Linked DNA regions of Homo sapiens: regions 2, 3 and 4 are each linked to region 1. The links are contacts of gene promoters, found by promoter capture Hi-C in human tissues and cell types (Jung and others, 2019). All regions are on one chromosome and are shown on one strand. The core of a region is centred on a gene start or on the middle of the fragment in contact, and the rest is flanking DNA. Distances in the headings are between cores, read along the strand shown. Region 1 holds the start of FKBP8 (FKBP prolyl isomerase 8). Region 2 holds the start of IL12RB1 (interleukin 12 receptor subunit beta 1). Region 3 holds the start of RAB3A (RAB3A, member RAS oncogene family). Region 4 holds the start of JUND (JunD proto-oncogene, AP-1 transcription factor subunit).

Region 1 (7,076 bases), core at 1-2,500:
TGCCCAAGGTCACAGAGAAAGCCAAAGGCCAAAGGAGGATTTGAACCTGGGGCTTCAGGCCCTGTGGCTTTGCCTGATTATAAGCTGAGCGAAGGGTGCTGGGATTTTTGTGGAGAGGACAGCCTCCGAGGCCTTAGGGAAGCCATTTTTAGAGCCTCTAAGGCCACTGGGGGAAATTGAATCTTTTACCAGGGCCTCCCACCTCCAGCCTCTTCTCCAAAGGGGAGACCCTCCCCAAAAGCACCAACTGTAATCACCCAGAAACCCCAAGCGTTTTTTCCTTCCACACTCTGAATCTAACACTATCCCCCACAACCCCAACATCAGGGACCCTGGCCCAAATCCTTCCCCAGGAGACCATCCTCCTCTCATCAGGCCTCGGTCCCACCCCCTCAAAGCAGCCTCCTTTCCAGGAGTGGTCGAGGTCCCACCACATTCTACAGCCTCTTCCTTGCCCCAGACCTCCTGAACCAATAACCAACCCCTCCGTCCCCCAGGCCCCAAGCTCAGAAGAGTGTGGCACAGCCATCAAACCAGCCCGCCGCATCCCCTCCCTAACCCTCACCTGCCTGCTCCTCCCGGGCTCGGAGCCCCACTTTGAGAGACCCTCCCAGCCCCCACCCCCATAATTCCCCGCGCCCGCACAATTCGGCCTCCCCTCCCACCCCCCACCCCAACCACCACCGCCCCCAGCACGGGCCAGCTCCCCCCACAGCCGCTCCGTCTCGCCGTAAACACTCCAGTGTCCCCAGACGCCCCCCCCTTTCCGATCCCATAACACCCCACGCTCTCCTGACGCCCCACAGCCCCGGCCGGGCCCTCAGTCAAGCCGCGACCCAGGCCCCCAACGACCCACGCCTGTCTGACGCCACCAGTCTGGGGCACCCGACCCCCGCACGCCTCGGGCGCCCCTGGCCCTGCACGCCTCCATCGGGACCCCCCCACTGGATCCCCTTTGCCCCCAGTGACCCCCATCCCTGGCCACCCCCGCCCGGCCGCGCCCCCTCGGGCACCCCCGACCCCCGTGCCCCCCCGGCTCGCCACCCCCGCGGCCCCTCGCCCCGCCCATCGGCCGCAGCCCCCGGCGCGCTAGCCCCCGGACCAGCCTAGGCCAGGGCAGCGGCCCGGCCGGCACGGCGCCCCCAGCACCCCAGGACACTTGCCTCTGGCTCCGGGACCCCCACTTGGGGTCCTGCGCCCCCCTCCCCGCCCCCAGCCGCGGCCGCCGCGCCTCGGGAACCAGGTTCGGCCGCTTGGCCCCGCCCCTGCCGTGCCCATTGGCCGCCGCTGCCGCGACTGCCGCACCCGTTGGCTCATGCAGACGTCCGTCCCGGGCGTTGGCACCTCCCCCTTCCTGCTTGGCCCCGCGGGGCGTTCTTAAAGGGACCGAAGCCTCCCGGCTGCTGGGGCTGGGGCGGGGGCTGGGGCGGGGGCTGGGGCGGGGGCTGGGGCGGGGGCGGGGGACCCTGGGCTGGACCCCAACACGGGTCAGTATCGCGCAGCCTGTGCGACTCCTGCCTCTCCTCTGAGCTTCATCCTGACCATCTGCGAAATGGGGATAAACACCCCCATCTATGCACTCTCACCTTGGGGGCTGCTGGGGGCACAGTCCACTCTAAATGTTATTTCCTTAAAGAGTTCAAGCTTGACGGGCAGGGCAGCTCTGGGGTTGCTGAATGACCCATCCTGAAGCCTTAGTTACAGAAGTGAACCTGAGGGCCTGAGGAGGAGTGACGTGCCCAAAGGCATACAGAAACCTCCCTCCCATCCCCCACACAGTTTAATGTCTAGAAGGTTGCCTGGTGCATACTGGAGGCGCTCGATTACTGCTGCGCAGGCGACTGAGCCAGCAGGGCCACTGGGAGGAGTTCCTCCTCTATGCACTGTCTGCTGGAGGGTGATAAGGTCCCCATGGCTCGGGAAGAAGGTGGCATCCTTGATTAGCTAAGTTTTTGTGGATCTTGTTTTGAAACCGGGACACTTCTCCCTCCTTCACTCAGTTTTATTTCCTTCCTAGCAGTTACTCCTTCCAGAATTATCTTGTCATTATTTTGCTTGTGGTTGGAGGGACCATCCCTCACTCTGCTTCATCCTGGCAGAGATTTTTACCTGATTTGTACCCAGCACCTCCTTGAACCATGCCTGGCATCTATAGAAGCTCAATAAATGGGTAGGTGGATGGATGGATGGATGGATGGATGGATGGATGGATGGATGAGTCAGACACCAGCTTTTGGAGGTAGCTATCATGGAGGTGGTAACTGGCTTTTTGGAGATCACTTCTAAGGTTGGAGTTCCCAGGTTACCTCCTACAGGAAGCCCTCCCAACCTCCCCAAGGCAAGACCAGGTGCCCCCTTTAGCTGTCTTGGCACAATGAAGTTGATGAACGTCCACTTCATAACTAGTTTACTTGGGTTTTTTGTTTGTTTGTTTGTTTTTGTTTTTTGAGAAGAAGTTTCACTCTTGTTGCCCAAGCTGGAGTGCAATGGCGCAATCTCAGCTCACCGCAACCGCTGCCTCCCAGGTTCAAGCGATTCTCCTGCCTCAGCCTTCCAAGTAGCTGGGAGTAGAGGCATGCACCACCATGCCTGGCTAACTTTGTATTTTTAGTAGACACGGGATTTCTTCATGTTGGTCAGGCTGGTCTCAAACTCCCGACCTCACGTGATCCGCCCACCTCGATGTACCAAAGATTACAGGCATGAGCCATCGTGCCTGGCCTTTTTTTTTTTTTTCTTTCTCTTTTTTTTTTGAGACAGAGTCTCTCTCTGTCGCCAGGCTGGAGTGCAGTGGCGCGATCTCGGCTCACTGCAACATCCACCTCCTAAGTTCCAACGATTCTCCTGCTTCAGCCTCCTGAGTAGCTGGGACTACAGGCACCCGCCACCATGCCCAGCTAATTTGTATATTTTTAGTAGAGACAGGGTTTCACCATGTTGGCCAGGATGGTCTGGAACTCCTGACCTCATGATCTGCCTGCCTCGGCTTCCCAAACTAGTTTACTTATATCTCTGCCTTTTTTTTTTTGAGATAGGGTCTTACTTTGAAACCCAGGCTGGAGTGCAGTGGCACGATCTCAGATCACTGCAACCATGTCTATCTCCTGGGCTCACGCAATCCTCCTGCCTCAGCCTCCTGAGTAGCTGGGCCCACAGGTGCACCATCATGTCCAGCTAATTTTTTTTTTTTTTTTTGAGACAGAGTCTCGCTGTGTAGCCCAGGCTAGAGTGCAGTGGCGCAATCTCGGCTCACTGCAAGCTCCGCCTCCCAGGTTCACACCATTCTCCTGCCTCAGCCTCCCAAGTAGCTGGGACTACAGGCGCCTGCCACCATGCCCGACTAATTTTTTGTATTTTTAGTAGAGTCAGCGTTTCATCGTGTTAGCCAGGATAGTCTCGATCTCCTGACCTTGTGATCTGCCCACCTCGGCCTCCCAAAGTGCTGAAATTACAGGCGTGAGCCATCGCGCCCGGCCCAATGTTTATATTTTTTGTAGAGATGGGGTTTCCCCATGTTGCCCAGGCTGGTCTCGAACTCCTGGGCTCAAGCAATCCTCCCACTTTGGCCTCCCAAACTGTTGGGATTATAGGCGTGAGCCACTGCTTTGATTTACCTCTGCCTTGCCCTCTACACTGGCAGAGCCCCAAAGTCTGGGAAGGCTTTGTTCTTTCTCATTGTTATAGCTCTGAGGCTTGCACAGTGCCTGCCACAAAAGGTAGTGGTGGGGTCTCACGGAAATCACTGAGGAAGGAAGGGAGGTTAAAGGTGGTAGCATAGCAGAGCTATGTAAGAAATCACCTGGAGGGCTGGGTGCGGTGGCTTATGCCAGTAATCCCAGCACTTTGGGAGGCCGAGGTGGGTGGATCACCTGAGGTCAGGAAATCTAGACCAGCCTGGCCAACATGGTGAAACCCCGTCTCTACTAAAAATACAAAAATTAGCCGGGTATGGTGGTGCATGCCTGTAATCTCAGATACTGGGGTGGCTGAGGCATGAGGACTGCTTGAACCCCAGGGGTGGAAGTTGCAGTGAGCAAGACCCAGTCTCAAAAACAGCCTTTGGGAGGCTGAGGCAGATGGTTCACCTGAAGTCAAGAGTTCGAGACCAGCCTGGCCAACATGGTGAAACCTGTCTCTGCGAAAAATACAGAAATTAGCCGGGTGCGGTGGCACATGCCTGTAATCCCAGCTACTTGGGAGGTTGAGGCAGGAGAATCGCTTGAACCCGGGAGGCAGATGTTGCAGCGAGCCAAGATCACGTCACCGTACTCCAGCCTGGGCAACCTAAGCCTGGGTAACGTAGTGAGAGCCTGCCTCTACAGAATATTAATTAATTAATTTGGAGACACAGTCTCCCTCTGTCTCCCACGTAGAGTGCAGTGGAACGATCTGGGCTCACTGCAACCTCTGACTCCCAGGTTCAAGCGATTCTCCTGCCTCAGCCTCCTAAGTAGCTGGGATTACAGGCGCCTGCCATGACACATGACTAATTTTTTTTTTGAGACAGAGTCTAGTGAGGCTGGAGTGCAATGGTGTGATCTCGGCTCACTGCAACCTCTGCCTCCCAGGTTGAAGCAATTCTCCTGCCTCAGCCTTCCTAGTAGCTGGGATTACAGGCGCCTGCCACCATGCCTGCCTAATTTTTTGTATTTTTAGTAGAGATGGGGGGGTTCCGCTATGTTGGCCAGGCTGGTCTTGAACTTCTGACCTTGTGATCCACCTGCCTTGGCCTCCCAAAGTGCTGGGATTACAGGCATGAGCCGTCACACCTGGCCTCTACAGAAAATTTAAAAATGTAGTCCCAGCTAAATGGGAGGCTGAGGTGGGAGGGATCCCTTGAACCCAGGAGGTCGAGGCTACAGTGAGTTATGATCAAAGTTCTGCACTGCAGCCTGAGCAACAAGGCAAGACGCTGTTTCTAAAATAATAGTAATAATTATTATTATAAATTAATAAGCTACTAAAATAAACTATAAAATAACACCACCAACAATAATAATAATGGCTGGCACTCATTGAACAGATATTTGCAGGCAAACATTTTACTTATATTTGCTTTTCCCTTTTTTTTTTTTTTGGGACAGAATCTCGCTCTGTCGCCCAGGCCGGAGTGCAGTGGCACGATCTCGGCTCACTGCCACCTCTGCCTCCCAAGTTCAAGCAATTCTCCTGTCTCAGCCTCTGGAGTAGCTGGGACTACAGGCACCAGCCACCAAGCCTGGCTAATTTTTGCATTTCTCGTGGAGACGGGGTTTCACTGTATTGGTCAGGCTGGTCTCAAACTCTTGACCTCGATCTCAAAAACAAAACAAAACAAAACAAAAACAAAAAAACAAGACTGCTCTACTTGGAGGCCATATCATTGGCTGCATGTAGAGTTGCAATTGTGTTTCCTGGTGAACTGAACCTTTTTTTTTTTGAGATGGAGTCTCAATCTGTCGCCTAGGCTGGAGTGCAGTGGCAAGATCTCAGATCACTGCAGCCTCTGCCCCTTGGGTTCAAGTGATTCTCCTGCCTCACCCTCCCGAGTAGCTGGGATTACAGGCACCCGCCACCACGCTTGGCTAATTTTTGTATTTTTAGTTGAGACGGGGTTTCGCCATGTTGGCCAGGGTGTTCTCAAACTCCTGATCTCATGTGATCCACCTGCCTCGGCCTCTCAAAGTGCTGGGATTGCAGGCATGAGCCAGAGCGCCAGGCCCGATCTGAACCTTTCATTGTTAAGATGTGCCCCTCTTTACTTCTTTCATTTTTCCCTTAGAGTGCACTTTGTTAAGATTGCACACCAAGCTTGGGCATGGTGGCTCACTCCTGTAATCCCAGCACTTTGGGAGGCCGAGGCGGGCTGATCACGAGGTGAAGAGATCGAGACCATCCTGGCCAACATGGTGAAACCCCGTCTGTACTAAAAACAGAAAAATTAGCTGGGCATGGTGGCACACTCCAGTAATCCCAGCTACTCAGGAGGCTGAGGCAGGAGAATTGCTTGAACTCGGGAGGCGGAGGTTGCAGTGAGCCAAGATTGCGCCACTTCACTCTAGCCTGGAGACAGAGCTAGACTCCATCTCAAAAACAAAAAAGAAAAAAAAATTACACACCAATTCTCCTTGGTTCATGTTTTCTTTCTTTCTTTCTGACACAAGGTCTCACTGTGTGGCCCAGGCTGGAGTGCAGTGGCACAATCATGAGTCACTGCAGCCTCAATCACCCACGCTCAAGCAATCCTCCCAGCTCAGCCTCTCCAGTAGCTTCAACTACAGGTGTGCACCACCATGCCCAGCTACTTTTTTTATATTTATTGTTTGTAGAGATGGAGTCTTGCTACATTGCTCAGGCTGTTCTCAAACTCCTGGGCTCAAGCAATCCTCTCACCTCGGCCTTGCAAAGTGCTGGGATTATAGGCATGAGCCATTGCGCCCGGGTCCATCTTTGTTTTTTAACTGGGGAATTTGGTCTATTGGTATTTAATGTAATTATGGACATATCTAGACATAAATCTGTCTCATTAGGTGGTTTTCCTCTTTTTTTTTTTTTTTTGAGATGGAGTCGCTCTGTTGCTAGGCTGGAGCAGTGATCACGCCATTGCACTTCAGTACAGGCAACAGAGTAAGACCCTATCACACACACAAAAAAGGAAATGAAATGGAAAAAAGTGGCAGAGAAAGCCTTCCAGTCCCCAAACCCGACCCCCGAAAGTCCCCATCTCTGGGCAGACTGAATGTTCGCATAACTTTCTATCCTCTCCCTTCATCATACAAAAAAACATGTTCTTATCTCAAGTCCAGTGTATACAAAACATCAGGGGCCAGCCAAGTCCCTTTTGGCCTCAATCTATAGTCCCCACCCCTTCTAAGACCCTCGTAAATGTTCCTTGGCTTCCAAAAGAGCCCCAAGGACCCACTGAAAAGTTTGATTTTGGCTTGGCACTGTGGCTCATATCTGTAATCCCAGCAATTTGGGAAGCCAAGGCGGGTGGATCACTTGAGGTCAGGAGTTCGAGACCAGCCTGGCCAATATGGCGAAACCCTGTCTTTACCAATACAAAAATTATCTGGACATAGTGGTGCATGCCTGTA
Region 2 (7,076 bases), core at 1,784-4,283, 460 kb before region 1:
ATCCATCCACCCATCTATCCATCCATCCATCCACCTCACCATCCACCCATTCACCCATCCATCCATGTATTCATCCATCCATGTATTCATCCATCCATGCACCCATCTACCCATCCATCCATCCATCCATCCATCCATCCATCCACCCCACCATCCACCCATTTACCCATCCATCCATGTATTTATCCATCCATGTATTCATCCATCCATCCACGCATCTACCCATCCATCTATCCATCCATGTGTTCATTCATCCATCTACTCATCCATCCATCTGCCCCACCATCCATCCATCCACGTATTCATACATCCATCCATCCACCCCACCATCCGTCCATCCATCCACGTATTCATCCATCCATCCATCCACCCCCCATCCATCTATCCATCCATCCATCCATCCATCCATCCATCCATCAATCCATGTATTAATCCATGCATCCACCCCACCATCCACCCATTTATCCGTCCATTCGTCCATTCATCCATCCATCCATGTATTAATCCATCCATCCATCCATCCATCCATCCCACCATCCACCCATTCACCCATCCATCCATGTATTCATTAGTCCATCCATCCATCCATCCATCCATGTATTTATCCATGCATCCATGCATTCATTAATCCATTATCCATTCACCCAACCATCCATCTATCCATCTAGTCACCAATCTATCCATCTATCCATCCACGTATTCATTCATCCATACACCCACCCATCCATCCATTTATCTACCTACCGATATATCCATCCAGCCATCCATCCATCCATCCATCCATCCATCCATCCATCCATACATACATACATGTATTTATTAATTCATCCATCCATTCATTTACCCACCCATCCACCTGTCTATCCATTCATCCACCACCCTTTAGTCCTCAGAGGTTGAGATGCATATTTGGGAGACACTCTCGGGAGGTACCCCTGCAGGAAAGAACAGTAAGACCAACAGTCTGGAGGGCAGAGAGAAGTGGAGGTGTGCCTGGGGTGGCACCAGTGTCTGAAGCCAGCATGGGGAAAGACAGTAGAGGGTGCATGGCAGGGAGAGGCCTGCCAGGGCTGGCCCAGGCAAGCACACTTGGCCCACTAGCAGTCAGGGCAATTATTAATAACATTTCTCCAGGAGGCAGCGACCTCCCTCAGCCACTGGGATCCCCGTGCCCTTTGGGATTGCCACAGTCTGCTAGGTGTGGAACTGGGTGAGAGAAGGAGGGGGATGCCACCATGGATGGGTCAGGAAGACCCCGGCGCCCTCACTCCCACAAGAAGGACCTGTCCTGAGCCCTGCAGGCAGATTGGAAGCCTTGGGGGAGAAGGCGGCACCCCAGGAAACAGCCCCAAGTGTCCAACCTTGAGGGGGGAAAGATGCTTAACACACAAGGCTCTCCATCCTTCCATCTCTCTCTGTGATGACACAGAACCCCCACCCACCCACCCACCCCTGAGAGCCTAAAGCCCATCCTCCTTCCCTTTCCCTGGACTGACCACTCACTGCCACTATCTCCAGGATACCTCGTGGGCTGCCTCTCGCCCCCTCCCTGCTGCTGGTCTCCAGCCATGCCTGGCCCCTGAAGGCGCTGGGACCTTGAGGTGTGGCCAGCACTGCTGTGGGCATTCTACAGGCACTCAGTGCATCTCAAGAGCCATTGAAAAAGTCAGCACCCCGCTGATCCCCAGTGTACAGAGAAGGAAAGTTTATTTATTATTATTATTATTGAGATAGAGTCTTGCTCTGCCACACAGGCTGGAATGCAGTGCTGCAATCTCGGCTCACTGCAACCTCTGCCTCCTGGGTTCAAGCGATCCTCCCACCTCAGCTCCTAAGTAGCTGGGAGTACAGGTGCCCATCATCAAGCCTGGCTAATTTTTGCATTTTTAGTAGAGATGGGGTTTCACCATGTTAGCCAGGCTGGTCTCGAACTCCTGACCTCAAGTGATCCACCCATCTTGGCCTCCCATAGTGCTGGATTTTCAGGAGTGAGTCACCGTGCAGGGCCTGAGATTATTAAAAGTATATGGGAAGGCTGGGCATGGTGGCTCATGCCTGTAATCTGAGCACTTTGGGAGGCCAAGGTGAGTGGATCATTTGAGCCCAGGAGTTCGAGACCAGCCTGGGCAACACAGCGAGACGCTGTCTCTGTAAAAAGTATACACCAAAAAAATTAACCAGGCATGGTAGTGTGCACCTGCAGTCCCAGCTACTCAAGGGGCTAAGGCAGGAGGATCACTTGAGCCCAGGTGGTCAAGGCTGCAATGAGTTATGATTAGGCCACTGCACTCCAGCCTGGGACACAGAGTGAGACCCTACCTCAGTAAATAAATAAATAAATAAATAAATAAATAAATAAATAAATAAATAAGTAAAGTATACGGAAGGATGTGCATAGGTTATATGCAAATACTTTACCATTTTATATCAGGAACTTGAGCATCTTTGGATTTTGGTATCTGCAGAGGGTCCTGGAACCATTGCCCCGTAAATATGGAAATGACTGTATACATTATATTATGTATGTCTATCTATTGTAAACTACATACATAAGATACTATACTATGTATACCTATTAGATACATACTTGCTTTTTATTCCTTCCTTAGTTTTTTTTCTCATTGAACTCCGGGAGGTGGAAAAAATTTAGTGCATTTCACAGAAGAGAAAATCTAGACCAGAGGAAAGATGTCTAAGTTCGATCCCAGAAGCCATGACTGCCCATCTCCCATTTGACAGCAGGAAAGACTGAGGCACAGAGAGATGAAACCAACCCACACAGCAGGCCCACAGCTCTCCACACATACACGTGCCTCCACCCAGCAAGAGGAGCCGCCATGCCAGGGTCAGGGGACTCACCGCCCTGCCTGGACAGCAGGAAGAGGAAGAGGAGGGGGACCACCCAGGTCACCAGCGGCTCCATCGGATCCACGTAGAGCCCCACAGCCCCAGGGGAGCCTCTCTGCCACCTGCGAGGTTCAGCCACCCCGTCCCCACTCCGGAACACATTGAAGCTGAGCAAGGAGAAAAGACTGAAAAAAAAGAAAAAAGAAAAAAAGTAAAGTGTCACAGCCCATCCCTAAGGCAAGTCAAAGTGAAAGAGAAACCCAGGAAGTCAGCTCCGTGGTGGTGGTGATGGTGGCGGCCACAGACTCTGGAGCAAGTCTGACTTTGGAGCAAGTCAGGGTTCTAGGGGGTTCTGCCCTGCTGGCCCCAGACCTGAACTGAACACCCAGATGCCAGCCCCATGGGCCCATGGGCCACCTGTGGTTCCATGCACTTGGCCAGGTCTCTGGCCCTCTCTAGCCAATTTTTTTTTTTTTTTTTGAGATGGAGCCCTGCTCTGTCGCCCGGGCTGGAGTGTGGTGGCATGATCTCCACTCACTGCAACTTCTGCCTCCCGGGTTCAAGCAATTCTCCTGCCTCAGCCTCCCGAGTAGCTGGAATTACAGGCAACTGCCACAACATCGAGCTAATTTTTGTATTTTTAGTAGAGACAGGGTTTCACCATGCTGGCCAGGCTGGTCTCGAACTCCTAACCCTAAGTGATCCACCCACCTCAGCCTCCCAAAGTGCTGGGATGACAGGCGTGAGCTACCGTGCCTGGCTGCCAAATTCTTTTTTTCTTCTTTTGAGATAGGGTCTTGATCTGTGGCCCAGCTGTAGTGCAGTGGTGCAATCACGGCTCACTGCAACATCAACCTCCCCAGGCTCAGGCCATCCTCCTACCTCAGCCTCCCCAGGAACTGGGACTACAGGCATGCACCACCACGCCCAGCTAATTTTTGCATTTTTTTTTTTTTAAGAGAGGGGGTTTTGCCATGTTGCCCAGGCTGGTCTCAAACTCCCGGGTTCAAATGATCCGTCCGCCTTGGCCTACCAAAATTCTGGGATCACAGGCGTGAGCCACCGCACCGGGCCATCTCGCCAGCTTCTGAATCTGAGACTCAAGAGCTGAAGGAGGGCAGTGTTCTTGGATGGCCTAATTTCATCCTTCCAACAAATTGTTACAAAGAGCTTGCAGCATGCTGGCCCTCCACAATGCCCACCTCCCCACATGCCAAGCTCCAGCCTTGTGCACCTGGGCTCACCCCTCTAATCCCAGCACTTTGAGAGGTCGAGGTGGGAGGATCACTTGACCCCAGGAGTTTGGGTCTACCTAAACAACATAGCAAGACCCCATCTCTATAAAAAATAAAGAATTAGGCCAGGCGCGGTGGCTCACGCCTGTAATCCCAGTACTTTGGGAGGCCAAGGCAGGTGGATCACGAGGTCAGGAGTTTGAGACCAGCCTGACCAAAATGGTGAAACCCTGTCTCTACTGAAAATACAAAAATTAACCGGGTGTGGTGGCAGGCACCTGTAATCCCAGCTACTGAGGAGGCTGAGGCAGGAGAATCGCTTGAACCCAGGAGGTGGAGGTTGCAGTGAGCCGAGATCGCGCCACTGCACTCCAGCCTGGGCAACAGAGTGACACTCCATCTCAAAATATATATATATATATAAATTAAAAGTTAGCCAGTCGTGGTGGCACACATCTGTATTCTCAGCTACTCAGGAGGCTGAGGTGGGAGAATGGCTTGAACCCAGGAGGTTGAGGCTGCAGTGAATCGTGATTGTGCCACTGCACTCCAGTCTGGGTAACAGAGCAAGATCCTGTCTCTTAAAAAAAAAAAAAAAAAAATTTAAGAGATGCAACTTAGTCTTTCCCCCATGTTCCATTTCTTAGCCTCTGAGTATTTTGTTTCCTGCCCCTCCCTCCCCACTGTCGGCAAAGCCTCTAAATGTCAGTGGAGAAGCTCTGATCCAAGCTACCATGTGGATGAACCCTCAAAAACATAATGCTGGGCTGGGTGCAGTGGTTCACATCTGTAATTCCAACACTTTGGGAGGCCGAGGTGGGCGGATCACCTGAGGTCAGGAGTTTGAGACCAGCCTGGCCAACAAGGCGAAACCCTGTCTCTACTAAAAATACAAAAATTTGCCAGGCCTGGTGACATGTGCCTGTAATTCCAGCTATTCGGGAGGCTGAGGCAGAGAGAATTACTTGAACCTGGGAGGTAGAGGTTGCAGTGAGCTGAGATCGTGCCACTGCACTCCAGCCTGGGTGACAGAGTGAGACTCCATCTCAAAAAAAAAAAAACACACATACACAAAAAAAAAAACCCATCATGCTGGGTGGACGAAGATGGACAGGAAAGGCACACACTGTATGATTCCACTTATATAAAATATCCAAAATAGGCAAATGTACAGAGGCAGACAGTAGCTGAGTGGTTGTCAGGGGCTGGGGGGAGGCGGGAGTGAGAAGTGACTGCTGATGTATGCGGGGTTTCCTTTTGGGGTGATGCAAATGTTCTGGAACCAGATAGAGGTGGTGGTTGCACAACACTGAATGTGCTAAATGTCACTGAATCGTTTGCTTTAAAATGATGAATTTCCGGCCCGGGCGCGGTGGCTCACTCCTGCAATCCCAGCACTTGGGAGGCCGAGCCAGGTGGATCATTTGAGGTCAGGAGTTCGAGACCAGCCTGGACAACACAGTGAAACCCAGTCTCTACTAAAAATACAAAAATTAGCTGGGCGTGATGGCATGCACCTGTAATCCCAGCTACTCAGGAGGCTGAGGCAGGAGAATCGCTTGAACCCGGGAGGCAGAGGTTGCAGTGAGCCGAGATCACACCACTGCACTCCCACCTGGGTGAGAGAGTGAGACTATGTCTCAAAAAAAAAAAAAAAGATGAATTTTAGGTTACGTGAGATGCATCTACAGAAAAAAGAAATATTCTTAGAGTCCAGGGGCACTGAGGAGGGAGAAGGAGAGGGTCTCTCCTGGGGATGAGCATCTGTGGAAACTGAGGCCCAAGTGGCCAGGGTTGTGCAATGCGGTTCAGCTTCCTGGGAGGAGGTCCCTCCTTCAAGAAGCCTGGCTCCGAGGGGCAGCTGAGCTGGCCAGGGTCAGGCGCCCAGCAGGCTATGAGGTCAGTGAGTTAGGGACAAAGACTCAGTGTCCTGGGCCTGGCACAGTGGGGACGGGGGCCCTGTGACCCCATACAGGACAGCCTTCTCTGGCCCCGGGGCCCAGGCCAGGGTCAGCTGGGGGATGGATGTGTGAGGCCTGGGGGAGGGGCAGAGACAGAGAAAGGGACAGAGATAGAGAGATACATAAAGATGGAGGAGGCCAGGCAGGGTGGATTATGCCTGTAATCCAGCACTTTGTGAGGCCAAGGCAGGAGGATTGCTGTAGGCTAGGAGTTCAAGAGCAGCCTGGGCAACATGGTGAGACTCCATCTCTACAAAAAATAATTTGCTGGGCATGGTGGCAGGTGCCTGTAGTCCCAGCTACCTGGGAGGCTGAGGCTTAAGCCAGGGAGGTCGAGACTGCAGTGAGCTCTAATTGCGCCACTGCACTCCAGCCTGGGCCACAGAGCAAGACCCTGCTCAAAAAATAACAAGAAAGGTGGAGGAAATAGGTAGAGATCAGAGGAAAGTCATGGCCCCCTCCTGACCATCCTGAGACCCTCCCAACTCCACCAATTCCTGGAGAGTCCCTCACTTGCCTTATTTCACAGATTGGGAAACTGAGTCCAGGGGCACTCAGACCACCTGAGGCCCCAGCTGGAGATGAAGAGATGGATTCAAACCACCCCTTGTGGAGTATAGTTTTGCCCCTTCCAGAGTGGAGACCGTGCCTCAGGGCTTCCCCCACCCGCACCAAGGTTGGCCCTCTCAGGCCTCATCTTTCCCACCTGCAAAATGGGCTTTTGTGAGTATGAAGGAGGGCTTGGCTTGCAGTGAGCGCTGTCCACCCGCTGGCCAGTGTGATTAGTCATTGTTGTTGTTCCCCAGTGGCCTCTGCCTGGCAGCTGCTGGAAAAACATCGAGGGAGGGAGATACAGGGCTGGGGAGGTGAAAAGCTGGACACAGACGCCCCTAGCCCCTTGGGATCAGGAACAGATGGAGGCCGGGTGCCCTGAAGTGGAGCAGGGAGGACTGCCTGGAGGAGGGACACTTGAGCTAGAATGTATAGAATTACAGGGCATCTCCGGCAGAGGCCACAGCAGAGGCAAAAGTCC
Region 3 (7,076 bases), core at 1,178-3,677, 340 kb before region 1:
TGGACTGGGCACTGATCTTTTCCACACCCTGAACTGGACACTGGGGACACAGTTGTTAACAAGATGGGCACTTCCCTTGCTAAGTGACACTCAGTGTGGGAAATAGAAAATAACGGTATAAATGTATCCTATATTGGAGAGTGACAAGGACCAAGGAGAAAAATCAAGCCAGATGAAGATGGAGAGAATTTAACTGTAGGTTTAAAAATTAAAGGAAGCTGACACTTGCCTGTACTCCCAGCTACTTGGGAAGCTGAGGCGGGAGGATTGCTTGAGCCCACGAGTTCAAATCCAGCCTGGGCAACAGAGTGAGACTCTGTCTCTTAAAACTAACAAGGCCAGGTGGGGTGGCTCATGCCTGTAATCTTAGCACTTTGAGAGGCTGAGGTGGGAGGATCGCTTGAGCCCAGGAGTTCAAGACCAGCCTGGGCAGACATAGCCCGACCCTGTCTCTACAAAAAAGAAAAAAATCAGCAGGCGTGGTGGTAGAAGCCCGTGGTCCTAGCTACTCAGGAGGCTCAGGTGGAAGAATGGTTTGAGCCTGGGAAGTCGAGGCTGCAGAGAGCCGTGATCACGTAACTGCATTCCAGCCTAGGGGACAGAGCAAGACCACCCTGTCTCAAAAAACAAACAAAAAAAGAGAATGGGGACCAAGATCCAGCTGAAACCTCATACATGGAAGAACTTGAAGATGGGGAAACTGAGGGACCAGGATTAGGTGCTTATGGGAGAACACAGGTGCTGTTTCTGCCCCGGTACACAGTGGGCACCTTACTGATAAATGCCCAGTGTGTAAGTGAATGACTCCAGTCAGGAAAGAGATAGACGAGGTTGGGGCTGCTTTTCCAAGTACGGGAATCCAACCGAGCCGGGCGGGAGCCCTCCAGCTGGGACCCACCCAGATCTGCAGCTTGATCCTCTTGTCGTTGCGATAGATGGTCTTGACCTTGAAGTCGATGCCCACGGTGCTGACGAAGGCAGGCGTGAACGAGTCGTCAGCATAGCGGAAGAGGAAGGACGTCTTGCCCACGCTGCTGTTGCCGATGATGAGAATCTTGAACATGTAGTCGAAGTTCTGATCCGAGGACTCCTTCTGCCCATAGCGCGAGTCTGTGGCGGATGCCATCTGGGGATACCGGGTGTAGCAGAGCCGTGAGGGGGGCTCTCTCCATCCTCATGTGCCCAAGCCCAGGCAGAAGATGGCAAGGGCTCCAGAAAACGGCCGGTGTATGGAGGACACCCTTATCCCATCAGGAGCCCCAGTATTAATTGGTGGTGCCCCCAGCAGAGGGCAGCCTGTGACCTTGAAATCCTGGGCGTTTCAGAGGAGGGGCTCAGAGGGTTGCCGATGGGGACACCCCAGCAGCCCCCTTCAAGGGGCAGGTGCCCCAGGTGGGGCTGTAACCCTAAACCCAGGGCTGAGCCCGGAGGGGGTGACTGCGGCTGGCTCCGCCCCCCATCAATCTTTCATGGTCCTCAGAACCCGGCCGCGCGGCCCCACGTGCACCGCGTGCATGGTCCCTCGAGGACGCGCATCTGCAGCCCCCGCTCCCCGCAAACCTCCAGGCCGGAGAGCTCCGGCCAAGGCCGCTGCATCACATGATACAGGAGGGGCATGCACACGCTCACGTGCACACAGCCTCAAACACGCTCATCCGTACATACAGGAGTGTGTGAACGCACTGAGGTGCACAGGACAAAGACACAGACACCTGTTTGCACACCGACTCGCCTATAGAAATGTGCAAACCACCCGTGCGCACAGGCCCCTCCACCCATGCAGGCGTGTGCACATCACCCACACGGACACGGATCCCCGTGCTTGTATGCACGGGCCATACCTGCACAGGCGGTCCACACGTCTTTCTCCACGCGCGTGCAACGCTCACACACTTAGGCCCAGACCCCCACGGCGTCACACGAGCATATCCAGGTACACAAGCAAGGGTGCACACAGACCCGCTGACACAGGCAGGCGCGCACACGCGTGTGCACACCACGCGCACGCGCACGCAAAAGCCTCCCGCGCGCACAGCTTCCCGCAAGGAGCTCGGCTCCCCTCCCCCTCCGCCGCAGAGCAGGGGGGTTGGGGGGGTTAGTGGTGAGGATCAGGCAGGAGTGGGGCGCCCGGGCCCTACCCATTCCCAGCCTCGCGACCGCCGCATCCTTCCCCCCATTCAACCCTAGTCAACCTCGTCCCCCACCTCCATCAGCCCATCAGTCAAATGAAGGTTATGCAGGTGCTCGGAGCCTGAGCACACCCGGCCGCCCAGGAGCTCACCTTGCCCTGCACCGATGCAACGGCGACCCTAGCGGCGGTGACTTTTTTGGCGGTGGCGGTGACAGGACCCCGGTGCGTTGATGTGGGGCTGCGCGGCGGCGGCGGCAGCAGCGGCTCAGGCCCCTGCAGTCCTCCGTGACGTCCTGCAAAGGGAGGGGCGGAGCCTCACATGTAGATAAGTCCGTGACGCCATCCGGAGGCGGAGCCGCGCGTAGAGATGTGGCCCATTGACGCACGCAGAGCCAGATGGGGCAGGGCTCCTGAGCAGATTGACGTGCAAATGGGGCGGGGCCTAGCGTGTGCATCCAGTAGGGGCGGGAGCGGCGCGGGGGCCGACTCCGCCTCTCGTCCGCCTCCTGTCCGCCTCGGGGAGGCGGGGCCCCTCAGCGTTCTCTCACTGGCTTAAGCTCTCGAGCGACGGGCGAAGTAGCCAATCAGAGATTGTCTACGCCCTCCTCTTGTCCAATGGTGGCATCTGGGAGATTGAAGGGCCGAGAGGCTGAGGCCTTGGCTGAGCCCCGGTCTTCGAGGGGCGGTTCCCTTACCCGCCCGCACCCACCCCAGGTAGGGGACTCTTGAGGCCACCGTCTAGTCCAAGGTGCTGTGACCCCTGTTAAATGCCCCTGACTCCCAATTGCAGAAAAGAAAAATCGAGGCCCAAGAGATGTTTTATACCCTCACATATATGGGGTTCAAAATAAATACCAAAGAATAAACAGGAGTCAAGAGGGACCCCTGTCCCATTCCCGAGGCGTAAGACCCCCCCACTGAGGGAGGGGCTAGTAAAGACTCCACCCCTCCCCCGTTTCTGAGGTTTGAAAAGAAAGAAGTAGAGGTCAAGAGAGCCTCCCCTCCCCACCATTCCCAGAAAAGGAGGAAGGGGCTGATGGACTCTCTGGGAACCCCCTCCCCTCCCTGCGCCCCGTCATCAAGAAGAAAATTCGAAGAAAAGGTTTAGCAGGGACAGAGAAGCGACCTGTCCCGGAAACCCCTTAAAGCCTGCGGTAAATGCCCCGGGAAACAGGGAGGGCACGAGCCGAAGCCTCCAGCTCTTCAAAGCTCGGATTCAAAGACCCGGGGGCTGGGAGACCCCCTCCCTCCATCCTGGGAAAGCAAAACTCAGAGGATGGAGCCTTTTGGGAGCTAAGATGGTCCATCTTTTATTCCTCCAAATCTTTAGGGAAGGAAGTCAGAATTTGGGGAGGGAGGAGGAGCCCGAAACCCCAGCCCCCACTTTGGGTCTCCTGCTCCCCCTACTCCAGCTTTCAAACCCTCCAGGGGTGTGTGGCCCCCAGGAGAGTCCTGATCCCCTAGATTCTCCCCCCACCCCTCCCAGTAGGCGGGGCTGGAGCGTGTGTGTGTGGCGGGGGGTGACTCGTCCTGTTTATAAAAAGCTCGCCAGCTGCGGAGGCGCCGAGAGACCAGAATAACTTAGCGCCTCGAGGCCCAGCCGCCGCCAACCCAGTCCCCAGCCCGCCCCCAGTGCCCTGGGAGTACTGGGACGCCCACCCCCACGTCCCCGCACCGTTTACATTTGGGAAATTTATTTTTTCTTTTTAGGGTAACATGTTTGCTCCCTCCTCCCCCACTCGGACTATAGAAGTATCACCAATCCACTGCAGAGAAATTGGGAAAATTCAGAAAAACAAAAAATAAAAAGAAATCCACCTCCCATTCTCCCTGCCCTCCGCGCCCACGCGGTAGTCCGTGCTCTGTGGGGGGCTCCAGGGCAGCTGGTCCAGGCCCTGGCCTGCCGCCTCCTTGGAGGGGAGGTTTTTCGGTTGCTCAGCTCCCTGATCGCCCAAAGGCACGCTTCCTACATGGGTGGCTCTCTCGGAAATACCTCCTGCCTTTTTTCCCCAGGAAGAGAAAAGTGAGCCACGAGAATGTGCGGAAGCTTCCGTCACTGACTTAGTATTTTAAAGTAAAAATAGCCGGGTGCGGAGGCTTACGCCTGTAATCCCACCACTTTGGGAGACCAAGGCGGGAGGATCGCTTGAGCCCAGGAATTGGAAACCAGCCTGAGTAACATAGGGAGGCCCCATCTCTACAAAAAATTTAAAAATTAGCTGGATGTGGTGTCGCGTGCTTGTGGACCCAAATACTCCCGAGGCTGAAGTAGGAGGATCACTTGAGCTCAGGAGGTCGAGGCTGTAGGAAACCGTATCGCGCCACTACACTCCAGCCTGGACGACAGAGTGAGACGCTGTCTCAAAAAATTAATTACTTAATTTAAATTTAAAAAGAATGCAAGCCCTTGATTGTCCAGAGCAGCATTGGGCTCTGGAATTAGAAATGGTTGAGCTGGGGGAGGGGCTGCGGGATTGGGGTATTTTCTTTGTGTCAGGGGAGACAGAGCTGGTGGGAGAACGGGCTAGGCTTCCAGGCCGGTCCCACTCAGAGGAAAGTCCAGAGGCTTCCCTGCATCCCTACCCTATCGTCTACACTAGACAAATAAAAATAAAAATGTGGCCAGGTGCGGTGGTTTATGCCTGTAATACCAGCACTTTGGGAGGCCGAGTCAGGAGGATCACTCCTTGACCTTGAGGTCAGGAGTTCGAGACCAGCCTGGCCAACATGGTGAAACCCCATCTCTGCTAAAAATACAAAAATTAGCCCGGTGTGGTGGTGCCTGTCCCAGGAGGCTGCTCAGGAGGCCCAGGCATGAGAATCGCATGAACCAGGGAGGCGGAGGTTGCAGTGAGCTGAGATCACCGGCACCACTGCACGCCAGCCTAGGTGCTAGAGGGAGACTCTGTCTCAAGAAAAAAAAAAAAAAGTATCCCAGATACGGGTCCAGGGACGACTTCTCGGGGAAGAAGACACTAACTTAAAACCCAGTGTGGGGGCCAGGTGTGGTGGCTCATGCCTGTAATCCCAGCACTTTGGGAGGCCGAGGTGGGTGGATCACCTGAGGTCAGAAGTTCAAGACCAGCGTGGTCAACATGGTGAAACCCCATTTCTACTAAATATTAGCCGGGCATGGTGGCGGTCGCCTGTAATCCCTGCTACTTGGGAGGCTGAGGCAGGAGAATCGCTTGAACCCGGGAGGCAGAGGTTGCAGTGAGCCAAGATCACGCCATTGTCCTCCAGCCTGGGCAACAAGAGCGAAACTTTGTCTAAAACAAAAATAAAAACAAAAATCTAATGGGTGAGGCTGGGGGCTGAGAGAGAAGCATTCCAGGTAGTGGGAACAGCTTGTTTGAAGGCCCTGTGGTGGGACCAGGCTTGCAGTGTGGCCAGAGCAGATGCAGTCAGTAAGAGGAGAGGGACAAATGCCTTTGGCTCAAACTGAAGGAGAACATATGAATATTCATTTATAAGAAATATGAATATTCTAGGGCTGGGTGCAGTGGCTCATGCCTGTAATCCCAGCACTTTGGGAGGCCGAGGCAGGCGGATCATGAGGTCAGGAGTTCAAGACCAGCCTGGCCAACATGGTGAAAACCCAGTCTCTACTAAAAATACAAAAATTAGCTGGGCATGGTGGTGGGCACCTGTAATCCCAGCTACTCAGGAGACTGAGGCAGGAGAATCGTTTGAACCCAGGAGGCGGAGGTTGCAGTTAGCCAAGATCACACCATTGCACTCCCGCCTGGGCGACAAGGCGAGACGCAAAGAAAGAAAGAAAGAGAAAGGGAAAAGGAAAGAAAAGAAAGACAGAGAAAGAAAGAAAAGAAAAGAAAGAAAAAAATATGAATTTTTTTTTTTTTTTTGAGACAGTCTCGCTCTGTCACCCAGGCTAGAGTGCAGTGGCTCGATCTTGGCTCACTGCAAGCTCCGCCTCCCGGGTTCAGGCCATTCTCCTGCCTCAGCCTCCCGAGTAGCTGGGACTACAGGCGCCTGCAACCACGCCCGGCTAATTTTTTGTATTTTTAGTAGAGACGGGGTTTCACTGTTAGCCAGGACGGTCTCGATCTCCTGACCTCGTGATCCGCCCGCCTCGGCCTCCCAAAGTGCTGGGATTACAGGCGTGAGCCACCGCGCCCAGCCAAAAATATGAATATCTTATAACAGATGGAGAAAAACTAGAGGGAAATAAGTCAAAATACTGCAGATAATCCATGGGTGGAGATACAGCAGAATTTTATTTCCTTCTTTATACATTTCCATTATTTCCAAATTTTTTACAGCGAACATGGTATTACTTTGTAAGCGGACTGGGGGGAAAAATCTTGAAAAAAAAATTCCCTAAATATCTTCTTTTTAAAAGTCTGGAAGGAAATGCACCAAGTTCGTGAACCCGGATGACTTTTAGTTCTGGCACTGTGGAATTTTATCATTAACTGTGATGATGATGAATTCTGAGTGGTTATAATATTTATGAACGAAGCCAGCTGCTCTGGAAGCCGAGGGCGGCTGTGATGACGCCTGTATCTTGTATAAATATTCAGGCACGCGAAGAGGGAGGCAGAGGGGAGGGATGGATACTGAGGCTTCCGGAGGCGGGGATCGAACCCTAGGCTTGAGCATGGTGCTGCCCAGTCCGCTCGGAGGCCCGACCAGCAGGACGAGCTCTTCCCGGCGAGGTGCGGTAAGTGGGACCATCAGGGCTGGAGGATGCCACCCCTCCGACCCACCCCCCAACCCCCGACAAGCGCGCCCCGCCGTGTCTCCCACGCCCGCCACCAGGGGGTGCCGCTGGCTAACATTGGGCGCCCAGATGCTTGACTTTGAGCTGGCAAGAGGACCTCTCTGCGCCTCAGTTTCCTCATCAGTGAAATGGCCAGGACACTCAATTTGGTCAATCGAATGTCTTAAGATGTAAAGATTTTATTTAACCCCAGATAAATGC
Region 4 (7,076 bases), core at 2,237-4,736, 260 kb before region 1:
GATGCAAACACCCGCATCTCACAGCACAGGATGTAGAGGCCATCGGGGGAGGAGGACTCGCCTGAGATCTCACAAATGCCAACTGGAACCTAAGCTGGGTCCCGGTCTCCCAACCAGTGACACTCTGCCCGAGATGTGGTTCTTGGTCTCTTGTGTGTCAAGACACCCCTGCTCTCCCACCTCAGCCTCAGTTCCCTTCAGCAGGTTCCTTCAGGCCCTGCTGAAACGTCTGCATGACCTCCCACAAGGCAACGTGACAGCTAAAAACCAAACCCTGGCCGGACGTGGGGGCTCACGCCTGTAATCCCAGCACTTTGGGAGGCCGAGGCGGGTGGACCACTTGAGGTCAGGAGTTCCAGACCAGCTTGACCAACATGGTGAAACCCTGTCTCTACTACAAATACAAAAAAGTAGCCGAGCATGGTGGGCACCTGTAATCTGAGCTACTTGGAGGCTGAGGCAGGAGAATCACTTGAGCCCGGGGAGGCAGAGGTTGCAGTGAGCCTAGATGGCGCCACTGCACTCCAGTCTGGGTGACAGAGCGAGACTCTGTCTCAAACAAATGAACCCCAACATAGCTGTTGGTGGCAAGGCCTTTCTCCATGACCAAGGGACGGTGGCCATTCTCTCCAAGTTTCTTCATCTGTAAAATGGGTACAATTCAGTGGCCCTCCCTAACAGGGCTGGCTAGGTACACATGGCCACCAGCCCTACTTGCTGTGTGACCTCGGCCACTAATGTTCACATCCCTCAGGGTCCCCAATGAGTTGGAAGCCCAAAGCGCAGGGTCTTAACAGCAAAGGGCAGAGCAGGCAGGAGAAGCAGGAAGCCTCGGGTCAAAGCTCTGAAAGTGAGGGAGTCCAAGGTCAGACTATCTCTGCACAGTCTCCTTAAAAGGCTGTGTGATGTCAAGCCAGTTGCTCAACCTCTCTGAACCTTAGATTTCCTCAAAGTAGGGAGTAGGATGTTGGGAGGAGGAGGAGAAGCGAACTTCAGGGAGATACTTGGAAAATCCCAGTCCTGGAGGCAGACCTCTTGGGTTAGATCCCACCTGTGCCAACTTCCTCCTGGTACTGGGTCCATCAGCTTGTCCTGGGCCTCAGCATCCCCCGATCCACCAAAAGAGAAAAGCTTACACTGTAAGCCAAGCACTGCTCTGTAAACATAAACTCTCTTAATCGTCACAACTTTATGGGGCAAGTTTTTCGACTGTTCTCCCCATTTTATACGGACAGGCAAACCAAGGACCAAAAGGTTAAAAAGTTTACTAAGTTTCTGTCTCTTCCTTCCTGCTTTGGGCTGGGGCTGTGCCCTTTCCACCTCGAAATCTCTCCTTCCCAAAAGGCAAGGGGGCATTAGCTAGTTCCAAACGCAGATCAAAGACCCCAAGACCCCTCCCCAACCTGGACATCAGCCGGCCCCGCGCCAAGGCGCGTCTAGGGGGCGCTCGCTGCGCGCCAGATGTGCGGGCCGCTCTCAGACACCCGCTCTCTGCTCCCTCCAACAAGGGGAGGAGCTAGGGACAGAGGGAGGAGAGAAAGGCGGGGGTGTAGGGGGGAAGCGAACCAGGCCCCGCCCAGCCCGCCAGGCCCCGGCGGGGGAAGAAGGAGGCGGAGAGCCGAGCTGGCGTAACGAGACTTTACTGAAAACAGAAAACCGGGCGAACCAAGGATTACAAACAGGAATGTGGACTCGTAGCAAAACAAAACAAAACAGAACAAAAAAGGGAGGGGGGACCGGTCGAAAGAACCGAAGGGGGGAGCGAGATCGAGGAAAGGGGCGGAGAATTTTTTTTTCTTCTTCCCATTTCTTTAAAAAACCAACACAAGAAAACACACACACACACAACCAACGTTTGTTCCCGAGTAGAAACATAAATAGGGCAGAATCGAACACTCTGTTCTTCTCTCTTCCAAAGAAAAAAAAAAAAAAGTAAAAGTAAAGGAAAGGCAGGGTTTGAGGCTGCGCCCCCTCGGAGCCCCCTTCCGCGGCGCGGTGTACAAAGGGGCAGCCGAGACGCGCGGGTTTGTGCAACACGGGGCGGCCGCGCGGGGGAAAGAGGCAGCGCGAGGGCGGGGGGGTCATGCGCTCGCCCCCCCGGGAGCAGGGGGTCCAGCTTGTCGAGTCCTGGGCACCCTCGGGGGGGGGGAATCCCCGGGGGCCGCGCCCTCTCTGAGTTCCTGGGCACACTCGGGGAGGGGGGGTCCCCAGGGCCGCACCCTCTCCAAGTCCGGGGCGCCCACGACACCCCCCCGCGAGCCCGCCCCTTGGGGAGGGTGGCCGCGCATGCGCCCCGCGCGCGGACTCAGTACGCGGGCACCTGGTGCTGGGGCAGCAGCTGGCAGCCGCTGTTGACGTGGCTGAGGACTTTCTGCTTGAGCTGCGCCACCTGCTCGCGCAGCAGGCTCGCCGTGGACGCCAGCTCCGTGTTCTGACTCTTGAGGGTCTTCACTTTCTCTTCCAGGCGCGAGATGCGCTCCAGCTTGCGCTTGCGGCACTTGGAGGCGGCGATGCGGTTGCGCAGCCGCTTGCGCTCCGCCTTGATGCGCTCCTGCGTGTCCATGTCGATGGGCGACAACGGCGGGCTCTCGCCGAAGCTCGGCACGTCGGGCACCGTCTGTGGCTCGTCCTTGAGCGCAGCCAGGCGCGGCGGCCCCAACGCGCCTGGGGGTGGCGGCGGCGGGAAGGGCACAGGTTCGGCAGCGAAGGCGACCGTCGCGGCGCCCCCCGCGCCCCCGGCGCCGCCCGCGTAGCTGCTCAGGTTCGCGTAGACAGGCGCTTCGGGCGCGGCCGCCGCCGGGGCCAGCTCGCCGGGGGGCGCGGAGCCCGTGGCCGTGCCCGAGGGCCCCCCGGCGGCGGCGGCGGCGGCGGCAGCGGCCGCGCCCGCGCCGAGCTGGTTCTGCTTGTGTAAATCCTCCAGGGCCTTGACGAAGCCCTCGGCGAACTCCTGCTCCTCGCTGGCCGCCACCTTGGGGTAGAGGAACTGTGAGCTCGTCGGCGTGGTGGTGACCAGCCCGTTGGACTGGATGATGAGGCGCTCGAGCTCGGGGGAGGCCAGCTTCAGCAGCCCCAGGTCGGGAGAGGCGAGCAGGCCGTCGGGGGGTGCCGCGCTGGGGGCGCCGTCGGCGCGCAGGGGGGTAGGAGGCGGCGCGGCCGCAGGCTTGAGCGCTGCCGCCACCTGCTCACTCAGGCTCAGCGTCAGCGCGTCCTTCTTCATCATGCTGCCGGCCGCGGCCGTCGGGGGCGCCCCGGGGAACAAGCGGCCCGGGGACGCGAAGCTGCCGCCGCTGCCACTGGCGCCGCCGCCCAGGCCGCTCAGCGCCTCATCGCCGTAGAAGGGTGTTTCCATCCTCCGCCTCCCCCGCCGCGCCGGCCCGGGGGGGAGTGGCCGCGGCCTCCCGGGGGGCCCGCGCCCCCCCGTCCGCTCGGCCCTGCGCCCGCCCCGGCCGCGGCCGCAGCGCCCGGCCCTCCACTGGCGGCGGCTCCTGCGCCGCGCCACTTGTGCGCCCTCTTATAGCCTCGGCTCGGCGCGATGAGCTCACCGCCCCCGTTCGCCATTGGGTGCGGGTGACGTCGCTCATTTGCATGGAGGGGCGGGGCCAAGCCGCCGACGCCCGCCCGGCCGCCGTTGCCCCGGCGACGCGCGGTAAACGCCACAACAGCGCGCTGCCTTGTGGGTTGACGTCATGGGGGCGGCCGCGCGCCCGGGCCGGGTCACCCCGCCCCGGGACCGCTGTGTACGACCGATCTCCCCGGCGCCGCCTCCGCCAAGGCACGTCCCGGGTGGCGTGATGGGCCCGGGCCACCAGGCGCCCGCCCGCCCCGAGGCCCCGCCCCGTGTCCGCGCGTGGGGCCCCGGCCGGGCGGGGGCGGGGGCGGGGGCGGTGCCGGCCTCCGGGGACTGGAGGGGGATGGGGTCCCGCATGGCTAAATAACTCCTTGGCGCCTCCTGCTCTGCTGTGCCGCCAGGGCCTCCCCTAGCGCGCCTTCTGGAGAGGCTTTGTGCGGATACGGGGCTGGAGGCCTGGTGGGGCTGTGTCCGGGGGCTCGCCGGGGGTGTGGGGAGGTCTGCGTTCCTCACCCTCCCTCCTTCCTTCCCTCCCTCCCTCCACCCCGCGTGTGATTGCTCAGGAAGAGACGGGAGGGGAGAGGAGGGTCGCCAGAAGTTGCTGAAAGCGCTTGGATCCTGATCATTTTCACTGAGTGCGTTCTAGAACCAGGAGTCCTACTTCCTGCCTTTACAGATGGGAAACTGGGCTCAGAGAGGTGGAGTGACCATCCCCCGAGAGTTAGCTAGGAGTCACAGCAGGGCCCGGGCTGTGACTAGGCCTGAGCTCTTGTCCACCCTTAGAACCCTAGAACCTGGGAGTCCAGGCCCCTGCGCAGCCCCTTCCTTCCGCCGCCCACGTTTTAACCCCAGGTCTGCCAGGGCTGTGATGTCCTGGGCGAGGGTGCCCAACTCCAGGGGCTGGGCTGATGAGGCAGGAATGCCGGGTATAATTATTACATGCTTGTTACCACTATCATGGCTGTTAGGGCTTAATGAGCCACTATTAAGACTGGCTGGGAAGGGGGTGTGAGGGAGGAGAGATGGACCCACCCCACCAATACTCACAAGGGATCCTTAGGACATCTGGATCTGACCTACAGCCTCTGCATGCACCCCTCCAGCTCCCCACCTCTGTCTGAATGGAGCCCACACCCTCCTTTCCCTGACCTCCTTCCCCTCACTCTCTCTGATCCTTGGCCTCCCAGTTGCAGGACTAATCGTACCTCTGGGCCTTTGCACGTGCTATGCTCTCTGCTTGGTACTCCCTTCCCCCAGTGCAAAGATGTGTCTTCAGGAAGTGCCCCACCCTCAGACTTTACTCCTTTATTGTAGCCTCTGAATCTGCCAGAATGATGGAGTGGACCATAGTCCCTGAAGGTCAGGGACATTGCCTATGCTGAGCCTGCTGACAGGGCCTCGCATAGAATGGATGCTCAGTATTAAAGGTGAATGCGGGGCTGGGTGTGGTGGCTCATGCCTGTAATCCCAGCACTTTGGGAGGCCGAGGCAGGCAGATCACTTGAGGTCAGCAGTTCAAGACCAGACTGGCCGAAATACAAAAATACAAAAAAAAAAAAAAATACGAAAATTAACCGGGTGTGGTGGTGTGCACCTGTAATCCCAGCTACTCAGGAGGCTGAGACATGAGAATCGCTTGAACCCGGGAGGCAGAGGTTGCAGTGAGCTGAGATTGTGCCACTGCACTCCAGCCTGGGAGACAGAGTGAGACTCCAGTCTCAAAAAAAAATAAAAAATAAAGGTGAATGCAACAAAAGGTTGCTTGTGTGGGTGGTCTCTAGCCTCAGTTTGTCTGCCTGGCCAGTGGGCATGCGTTACTCCTTTTCTATCCTCCTTACTCACCTGGCTCTGCCCCCAACTGGGGCATGAAGGCCATAAGGGAGGCTGTCCTCATCACCAAGAGAGGTGGCCTGTCGGCCACACGCGGTGACTCCTGCCTGTAATCCCAGCACTTTGGAAGTCTGAGGCAGGCATTTGAGGTCAGGAGTTTGAGACCAGCCTGACCATCATGGTGAAACCCCATCTCTATTGAAAATAAAAATTAGGCTGGGCGCAGAGGCTCACGCCTGTCATCCCAGCACTTTAGGAGGCCAAGGCAGGCTGATCACGAGGTCAGGAGATCAAGACCATCCTGGTTAACACGGTGAAACCCTGTCTCTACTGAAAAATAAAAAAAAAAATTAGCCGGGCATGGTGGCGGGCGCCTGTAGTCCCCAGCTACTCGGGAGGCTGAGGCAGGAGAATGGCATGAACCCGGGAGGCAGAGCTTGCAGTGAGCCGAGATCACACCACTACACTCCAGCCTGGGCAACAGAGCGAGACTCCGTCTCAAAAAAAAAAAAGAAAAAAGAAAAGAAAAAAAAATTAGCCAGGTGTGGTGGCAGGTGCCTGTAATCCCAGCTAGTCGGGAGGCTGAGGCAGGAGAATCGCTTGAACCCGGGAGGTGGAGGTTGCAGTGAGCCGAGATTGCGCCATTGCACTCCAGCCTGGGCTACAGAGTGAGACACTGTCTCAAAAAAAAAAAAGAAGAAAAAAAAAATAGGCTGGGCGAGGTGGCTCACACCTGTAATAAGCACTTTGGGAGGCTGAGGCGGGCAAGTCATCTGAGGTCAGGAGTTCGAGACCAGCCTGGCCAATATGGCAAAACCCTGTCTCTACTAAAAATACAAAAATTAGCCAGGCATGGGGAGCGCACCGGTAATCCCAGCTGCTCTGGAGAAAGGAGAATCACTTGAACCCAGGAGATGGAGGTTGCAGTGAGCTGAAATCATGCCACTACACTCCAGCCTGGGCAACAGGGCAAGACTCCATCTTAAAAATAATAATAATAATAATAATAATAATAATAATAATAATAATAAAGACCTGGCCTGGCAGGCCTGGGATTCAAATTGCCAGGGCAGGGAACTGGAGGTGTGGGTTTGTTTTGTCTCTAGATTGGTTAGGAAGGTGTCTGTCTGCCTATTGGAGTGTGTGTCTGTGTGTGCACCTGTGTCTGTCTGTATTCGTGTTGTATAGACAGACGCAGGTACACACAGATACATACTCAGATCCATGGGTCTCTGTGCTCTCTAGCCCAGGTTCTATCCTGGACAAAGAGATCCCTAGTGGGACAAGATCCAGCCCGCAGACCTGTAGCCAGCCCTGCCCTGGGAACCCCTCTCTGGGTCCCGTGCAGTGGGGCCAGAGTGGAGGAGACGGGGTCATGCCTCTCCCTGAGGCAGGAGGTGAGTGGGCGGCCTACAGAGGCCCTGCCCTGAACTTGGGCCTCAGCCTTGGCAGCTGGGGAGATGGTCTGGTGAATGGTAGGCTGAGACAGCCTGAGCTGAGTGGAGCACTTTCCTGCAGGCAGGCAGGTGAGATACAGAGGCCTGTCAACCTCTCTGAGCCTCAGCTTTTCCTTCATGAAAATTGAGCAAATAAACCTACCTACTTTGTGGAGTATCGCGATTTTTTTTTTTGAAATGAAAGGCCTCACATATTTATTACTGAACCCAGCCAACCCACA

What was found. Contacts are between HindIII fragments. The study calls those that stand out against the background at their distance.
Region 2: a contact is called between the fragment with the promoter of IL12RB1 here and the fragment with the promoter of FKBP8 in region 1, in 1 of the 25 tissues and cell types used here (dorsolateral prefrontal cortex).
Region 3: the fragment with the promoter of RAB3A here is called in contact with the fragment with the promoter of FKBP8 in region 1 in 1 of the 25 tissues and cell types used here (dorsolateral prefrontal cortex).
Region 4: a contact is called between the fragment with the promoter of JUND here and the fragment with the promoter of FKBP8 in region 1, in 1 of the 25 tissues and cell types used here (dorsolateral prefrontal cortex).

Annotation. Positions count from the first base shown.
Region 1 is chr19:18,542,323-18,549,398 of GRCh38, forward strand. It overlaps FKBP8 (FKBP prolyl isomerase 8), which reads right to left and starts at 1,251. Exons shown (of 9, transcript NM_012181.5): 1 at 1,164-1,251. RefSeq lists a silencer at 1,067-1,496. The HindIII fragment of the contact is 12,332 bases long and covers 1-7,076 here.
Region 2 is chr19:18,083,901-18,090,976 of GRCh38, forward strand. IL12RB1 (interleukin 12 receptor subunit beta 1) reads right to left here and starts at 3,034. Exons shown (of 17, transcript NM_005535.3): 1 at 2,860-3,034. The coding sequence starts at 2,923. RefSeq lists enhancers at 2,946-3,295, 3,306-3,365. The HindIII fragment of the contact is 62,137 bases long and covers 1-7,076 here.
Region 3 is chr19:18,201,615-18,208,690 of GRCh38, forward strand. It overlaps RAB3A (RAB3A, member RAS oncogene family), which reads right to left and starts at 2,428. Exons shown (of 5, transcript NM_002866.5): 1 at 2,282-2,428; 2 at 899-1,126. The coding sequence starts at 1,126. LOC102725254 (a long non-coding RNA gene) reads left to right here and starts at 3,116. Exons shown (of 2, transcript NR_134910.1): 1 at 3,116-3,285; 2 at 3,842-3,949. It overlaps PDE4C (phosphodiesterase 4C), which reads right to left. Exons shown (of 15, transcript NM_001098818.4): 15 at 6,351-7,076. RefSeq lists enhancers at 1,670-2,452, 2,485-2,779, 2,965-3,064 and silencers at 2,445-2,834, 3,720-3,779. The HindIII fragment of the contact is 10,728 bases long and covers 1-6,478 here.
Region 4 is chr19:18,278,136-18,285,211 of GRCh38, forward strand. JUND (JunD proto-oncogene, AP-1 transcription factor subunit) reads right to left here and starts at 3,487. Exons shown (of 1, transcript NM_005354.6): 1 at 1,559-3,487. The coding sequence starts at 3,349. The coding sequence ends at 2,306. It overlaps MIR3188 (microRNA 3188), which reads left to right and starts at 3,942; the gene lies at 3,942-4,026. LOC124904652 (a long non-coding RNA gene) reads left to right here and starts at 3,957. Exons shown (of 2, transcript XR_007067154.1): 1 at 3,957-4,995. It also overlaps the pseudogene RPL39P38. RefSeq lists enhancers at 766-845, 1,186-1,395, 2,621-3,472 and silencers at 1,446-1,645, 2,076-2,385, 2,966-3,965. The HindIII fragment of the contact is 27,320 bases long and covers 450-7,076 here.